Linked DNA regions of Homo sapiens: region 1 is linked to region 2. The links are contacts of gene promoters, found by promoter capture Hi-C in blood cells and fetal thymus (Javierre and others, 2016). All regions are on one chromosome and are shown on one strand. The core of a region is centred on a gene start or on the middle of the fragment in contact, and the rest is flanking DNA. Distances in the headings are between cores, read along the strand shown.

Region 1 (3,777 bases), core at 816-3,315, 690 kb after region 2:
ATTCCTGGCCCTACTCAGCCCCATGATTCCGAATATCCAGCAGAGGCCCGTGCTCCAGGGGCTTGCATTTTCATAAACTCCCCGGTGGGTGTGATCATCAGTCTGTTTTGGAAAGCTCTGGATTCTTCGTGTCTCTCAAACATAAAATTTCTCCAAATTTCTCATAAATGCTGTTCATTCACAAATGAATAATCTGCCCACCTCTTGAAGTGTCACGACTCTGAACTGTGGATTTAAAAGATAAAAACACATGCTTTAAGTATTAAAAGTACATGAAGGAGTTGGCTTTCTTGGCGAACATTTTAGAGATCCGACTTCAGTGCCAACTTGATGAGCCAACACGGGCAGGGGATGCGGCTCTAGAGAGAGGCCCTGGGCTGTCAAATATTTTCTCAAAAAAAAAAAAAAAAGTATTTGTTCAAAACCTCAAAGTTTGCACCACAAATGTTGGACTAAAGAATTCCTGCCGGTCGCGGTAGCTCACGCCTGTAATCCCAGCACTTTAGGAGGCCGAGGTGGGCGGATCATGAGGTCAGGAGATCGAGGCCATCCTGGCTAACATGGTGAAACCCCATCTCTACAAAAATTACAAAAAATTAGTCGGGCGTGGCGGCGGGCGCCTGTAGTCCCAGCTACTCGGGAGGCTGAGGCAAGACAATGGCGTGAACCCGGGAAGCGGGGCTTGCAGTGAGCCGAGATCGTGCCACTGCACTCCAGCCTGGGCGAGAGAGCGAGACTCTGTCTCAAAAAAAAAAAAAAAAAAAAAAAAGGGAATTCCTATAACGCAATTCTAACTAGATTCCTCAACAACCACTGTTGTTCAGCTTGGGCCCCAAGCATCCATTTTGAGCAGAACTGCCTCAATTTAAGGGGACCAATGTTATTTGGTTCCTGAGAACTTTTTAATAATGAAAATTGATATAAAGGGACTAACTCTTAACTCAGCTTCGAAAAAAAACTTCTCAAGGCATTTTAATTTCCATTTGTAAGTGTGAACATTCTAAAATCAAAATCTGAGCCGGGCATGGTGGCTCACATCTATAATCCCAACGCTTTGGGAGGCCAAAGCAGGCAGATTGCTTGAGGCTAGGAGTTCCAGACCAGCCTGGCCAACATGGCAAAACCCCTTCTCTATAAAAATACAAAAACTATACAGAGTGGTAGTGTGTGCCTGTAATCCCAGCTACTCGGGATACTAGGGAGGCTGAGGCAAGAGAATCCATTGAACCCGGGACTTGGAGGTTGCAGTGAGCTGAGATGGCACCACTGCACTCCAGCCTGGGTGGCAGAGTGAGATTCTGTCTCAAAAAAAAAAAAAAAAAAAGCTTTGATAACAGACATACAAAATTCAGTACAGGGTTGGAAAAAAATGTTGAGCAAATATCAGAATAAGAAAACTAGGAGAAGCCAGGCGTAGTGGCTCACGCCTGTAATTGCAGCATCTGGGAGGCTGAAGCGGGCGGATCACTTGAGGTCAGGAATTTGAGACCAGCCTGGCCAACATGGTGAAACCCCATCTCTACTAAAAATAGAAAAAATAGGTCAGGCGCGGTGGCAGGCACCTGTAATCCCAGCTACTCAGGAGGCTGAGGCCAGAGAATCGTTTCAACCTGGGAGGCGGAGATTGCAGTGAGCCGAGATTGCGCCATTGCACTCCAGCCTGGGCAACAAGAGCAGAACTCCATCTCAAAAATAATAATAATAATAATAATAATAACAGCCAGGCATGGTGGTGGCGCCTGTAATCCCAGCTACTCGGAGGCTGAGGCACTAGAATCACTTGAACCCAGAGGGCAGTGAGCCAAGATCATGCCACTGCACTCCAGTCTGGGCGACAGAAACAGACTCAGTCTGAAAAAAAAAAAAAAAAAAAGAAAGAAAAAGAAAAATAGAAATGACGGAAATCAATACAGGAGATTGAGAACAACGGGACCTCTGGCACACTACTGGTGGAAGTGTAAACTGATGTAAATACTTTAGAAAACTGTTCAGCACTGTCTAATAAAGTTAATGATACGCCTACCCTATGACTCAGCAATTCCACTCCTTGGCATATATATCAGGAAAACAAAAGCAAACTCATACAAGAATCATTATCCATAATAGCCCCAAACTAGAAAGACACCAAATGTCCACCCACAGGAGAAAAGGTAATCAGACTGTGCCATATTCATACCACGGTATTCTACTCGGTAATCCAAAAGAAATACTGTGATAGTTAATTTTATGCCTCAGTTTGCCCGGGCTAAGACATACCCGATAGGTGGTCAACATTACTTCTGACTATGAGGGTGTTTCTGGAAGACTTTAGCATTTGAATCAGTAGACTGAGTACAGAAGATCCGCCCTCACCAACCTGGGCAGTATCTGGGGCATCATCCAACCTGTTGAGTCTGAAAAGAACAAAAAGTAGAGGAAGGGCAAATTCTGTCTCTTCTTGAGTTGGGACATCCTCTTCCACCCTCAGACATCAGAGCTCCTGGTTCTCAGGTCTTTTGACTCCAGGACTTATGCCACTGGTGTCCCTGGTTCTCAGGGCTTTGGAGTGGGACTAAGTTATACCACAGGCTTTCTTGGGTCTCCATCTTGCAGACAGCAGATCATGGGACTTCTCAGACTCCATAACCACTTAAGCCACTCCTCCTGATCAATCTCTTGCATCTATCATATTGGGCTCCGATTTTCTGGAGAACTCTACACTGACTGACACAGGCAGCAACATGGATGTGTGTGATGCACACAAGGAGTTATTATTTCAAGTGATTGGCAAACACAGAAATTTTATACTACCCCAAAGAAAGCTTACCTTCAGTCATACTATGGCTAGAAAATATTGGTATTGTTACATATATGCATACCTATGTATTTATGTATACATTAGGAAGAGCAAATACTTGTGTGGTTAGGAACCCAGATTTTCAGCAAAAGAGACTATATTATAGTCTCTTTTAGTTCAGTCTACTAAAAAGGCCTAGAAATGCCCAAACTAGGCCAGGCACAGTGGCTTATGCCGGTAATATCAACATTTTGGGAGGCTGAAGCAGGAGGATCACTTGAGCCCAGGAGTTCAAGACCAGCGTGGGCAACGTAGCAAGACTCCGTATCTAGAAAAAAAAAAAAAAAATCAGCCAGGCATGGTGGCATGCACCTATAGTCCCAGGTACTTGGGAGGCTGAGGAAGGCGAAGCACTTGAGCCCAGGAGTTTGAGGATGTAGTGAGCTATGATTATGCCATTGTACTCCAGCCTGGGCAACAGAGCAAGACCTGTCGCAAAAGAAAAAAAAAAAAAAAAAAAAAAAAGAAGAAGAAGAAAAAGAAATGGCCTAACTAGAAACAATGACTATATCTGTGCCTAGATTATTATCTTCAAATAGCATTTCCCACAAAATGAAGCAGAACTTTTGGAGAAATGGCTGTCACCAAGTCTAGACCAGGAAATTTATTAGATGTATTGAAATACCTTACATCTGAAATACCCTGGAGTATACAGAGTACAGAAAAACAAACAAACAAAAAAAACAAAACCCTAAGTTAGGGCTCATTCCTGTAATCCCCACACTTTAGGAGGTTAAGAGGTGGGGGAGTGCATCGCTTGAGCCCAGGAATTTTGAGACCAGCCTGGGCAACAAGTCAAAAATCTGTCTCCACAAAAAATACGAAAATTAGCTGGGCATAGTGGTGTGTGCCTGTGGTCCTGGCTACCCAGGAGGCTGAGGTGGGAGGATTACCTGAGCCCGGGAGATTGCGGCTGTAGTGAGCTGTGATCGCGCCACTGC
Region 2 (3,354 bases), core at 576-3,075:
CCCTCTGTATTTGATATCTGAAATATTCCAAAAATTAAAAGAAAAAAAGGAAAATTAGACAATAAGAAAATTGGGCAGAACAAAGACACCAAAACGCAGCCCTTGAGCGCAGAGCACGAAACCTTGAGCAATCGGAGCAGTAGCTGGGTCTCTAAGGGGTTTGAAGTTTCTTACCCTAGGTATCCTTATACTATATCCCATTTTCCTTAGGATAAATCGCAAATTTCTTGCAACAAAAAATGTCCTAACTAGAGTCGTAGTTATAAGGAAAAGGCTCTCTCCGGAGGAGTAAAATCTGTAAAATTTCTACCTTGTTTCCCTCGCCAGGATCTTGGGCAAAATGGAAAGAGATTTAGGTGAATGCCATAAAATACTCTATAAACCATTAAATATCATCAAGAACGCCTAAGGACCGCATCGCCCAGTAGGAGAGTGCATATATTTTGAAAGGTCTCTGCAACTGAGGGGGTTTTGGCGTCCAGGGCGCCACTGGAAAAGGCACGGCGCACTGGTACCAGCCCAAATTCACCTACGTCTCGGCTTCATTTTTTATCTTTGATCCCCCTATTCTGTCTCCTGAACAGGCTGGCTGAAGAGGCCACACTGGCAGCGTCAACACTGCGGAGCAGCTGGCCAGACTCGATCCTGTCCACCCCCCTTCCCATTAGCGTCTGTGGGAGAGAATGCTCAGAAAGAGGCGCGGGGGCGAGGGGAGCGGCGAGGTTACCCCCCTCCTGGGTCCGTTCCGTGGGGACAGGCCCTGGACTGGACTGCCAGTTCACACGAAAACAGGTGGCAACAGAGTCGTGACACGCACACACAGCAAGGGGTGTGCACGAACGTTCACGCTCACCAACGAAACCTGCACACAAGAGATACCCACTCGACAGAATTAAATCCGCACACAAGAGATCACGCACTCAACAGGACCCATGCGCAGACACTCTGCGTCACTCGGAGACACGCAAGGACGCACACTTGCGCGAGCAAGGCTCTAGGCGGGGGTCGCAATTGCAGAAGGCGCGGCCACGCGCGCTAGGGGACGCGCAGCCCACAGACAGGGGCAGTAACACAAAGGGGGGCCACCTGCAAGGCCGAGAGCGCCCACGCAGCCGCCAGGGAGCGCGGACACCGACACAAAAGGGGCGACGAGGCGACACGCGAGCGCCTCCACCCAGCGGAGGTGTCAGCCACGCACCGGCCGAGGCACGGGCAGCGGGGGGTTGCGCACAAAGGGACTACTCACACCCTCGCACCGGCATCCCAGGGCCTCGCTCGCGAAGGGGCACCAGACCAAGGGGGCAAACCCACTGGGGTAGGCAATGGCGGCCACACCCCCTCATCGCGCGGGACCCAACCCATGCAGACACAGTAGGCACCTCAGCGAGGGACGCGAGGAGACGCGCACACACCCACACTCACCACACACCCACGGAGGGGGTGTGGAAGGCCCCGCTCCCCCGGCATCTCGGCTGCAGCGGGACAAGGTGACACATCCGGGAGCCCGGCAGCGCGCCGGGTGTGCACTCACCCGGGCCCGCCGCCCGCGAGCCTCGGACGCGGGCAGCAGCAGCAGCAGCCGCCGCCGCCGCCGCCGCCACCTCCGGCCCTCCACGTCAGCCGACGGCGGGAGGGAGCGGGTGGCGGCGTTGAAGCGAGGTGCGTCACGTGGGCTGGCAGCGCGCGTGCGCAGTCGCACCCCACCGCCCCCTCCTTCGCCGTCGCGAGCCGCGGGATCACGCCCGCCCCCGCGCTCGCTGGCTCCCACCCGGGGAGGGTCGTTGTGCGCCTGCGCCAGGGTGGGGGTTGCCGTCGCGCCTAGGCCTTTCCCTCAGGTTTTCCTCTTCCCCACTGCGGCTCCCCAGTCGGCGCTTGCGCGGAGAACTCAGCGCTGAGGTGGCCGAGGTGTCGGGAGGGGCCTGGGTGGGCGTATGAAGGACCCGAGGTCGAGGGCCCCCCCATACCCCGCCTCGAATGAGAAATAGAAGTCTCCACGAATGGGCAGGGCCCGGGGCCTGGGCGCCGCGACCTAGTAGGCCCGCATGCTGGTGGGCGCCGCGCGAGCCTTGTTCCCTGCCCTCCCCTCCCACAGGGAGGCCACGCTTGCAGAGCTGGAGCGCGCGTCTATCGCCCCAGAACCCCCCTCCCTGCCCTATCCTCCGCCACCCCTTCTGTTGCGGGGCGCGCGCCAGCCTGGGTGTCTGTATGCGCTCGAGGCGGGGGCGCGGGTTGCGGACGGAGGCGCGGGAGGCGGTTCTGCGCGGCGGGGGCCGTACCCGCGGCGGAGCGAGGAGGCGAGAATGGATCAATGGTGCCACGGAGCACATCGCTGACGCTGATTGTGTTCCTTTTCCACAGATTGTCTAAAGCCCCAGGAAAAATGGTGGAAAATTCACCGTCGCCATTGCCAGAAAGAGCGATTTATGGCTTTGTTCTTTTCTTAAGCTCCCAATTTGGCTTCAGTAAGTACTTTCCTGATGGATGGCCAGGGGCTTTTTCTGGCGTTCAGTGACAAGGGAAGAATACATTGGTTAGACTGTGCACACATGAACTGTTGATTCTTTCTCCCTATGTCTCTTTTTAAGAAAATCTGAAGGGATCTCGTGTTTGCTGAGTGTTCCGTGTGCCAGCACTAGCCTAGGAGGTTTTAGTCTCTACAAATATTTATACAGCACCAGACGCGATGGCAAAGTGGATAAAGCCTGGTCCCTGCCCTTAAGGAGGTCGTGGTCTTGTGGAGGAGACAGATGGGTAAATCTACAGTTAATGCTCAGTGTGATGAGTGTCAGGGAGCACGGTGGAGAGACATTGAAACCAGACTGGAAAGTCAAGGCTTTCTACAGAGGCCTTTCCCCCTGGCACTGATGCTGATTAGGAAAGAGTAAGAGGGAGGGAAGAAGTGGAAAGGCCTTGAATGAGGGCGTGAGAGGGTTTGGACCCGAGGAGCTTGTGATGTCACCAGTGTGCCCTGCGGGATCTGGGGAACAGGAGAAGTAGGCCAGAGAAGTCGGGTTGAAAGGTGTGTCGTTTGCGTCCTGGATCTCCCTTAATTTAACCCCATAACATTCCATTTTACAGATAAGGAGACTGATGCTCACTAAGACACTAATATGCCCACTCACACAGCAAGTCCCAAGTCTCTCCCCAAAATGATTTGAGAATTTTGAGGCACACAAAAGGGAGAAAATTGAGTGCCCGTGATCCAACGTTCTGCAACTGTTTGGAAACCAGGAAAGTGGAGGAGTGGTAGTACTTCTGAACCCTAACTAAAATATATCAGCCTGCACCATCAGCACAGCTTGCAGATGAATGTAATGGCCAGGCTATTAAAACTGAAGTGAAGTGAAGAAGTTA

What was found. Contacts are between HindIII fragments. The CHiCAGO score rates a contact against its expected background, and 5 or more counts as called.
Region 1: a fragment that was not itself captured here is called in contact with the fragment with the promoter of PIGP in region 2 in 1 of 17 cell types (M2 macrophages); the score reaches 5.3 in M2 macrophages.

The regions. Positions count from the first base shown.
Region 1 is chr21:36,380,635-36,384,411 of GRCh38, reverse strand. No RefSeq gene overlaps it. Among named protein-coding and RNA genes, the nearest start is that of CHAF1B, 2.9 kb to the left of the region's middle. The HindIII fragment of the contact is 1,476 bases long and covers 1,328-2,803 here.
Region 2 is chr21:37,071,542-37,074,895 of GRCh38, reverse strand. PIGP (phosphatidylinositol glycan anchor biosynthesis class P) reads left to right here and starts at 1,825. Exons shown (of 5, transcript NM_153682.3): 1 at 1,825-1,896; 2 at 2,359-2,462. The coding sequence starts at 2,381. TTC3 (tetratricopeptide repeat domain 3) reads right to left here and starts at 1,642. Exons shown (of 46, transcript NM_001330683.2): 1 at 1,423-1,642. RefSeq lists silencers at 1,235-1,294, 1,515-1,834, 2,075-2,354 and an enhancer at 1,633-1,927. The HindIII fragment of the contact is 9,103 bases long and covers 1-3,354 here.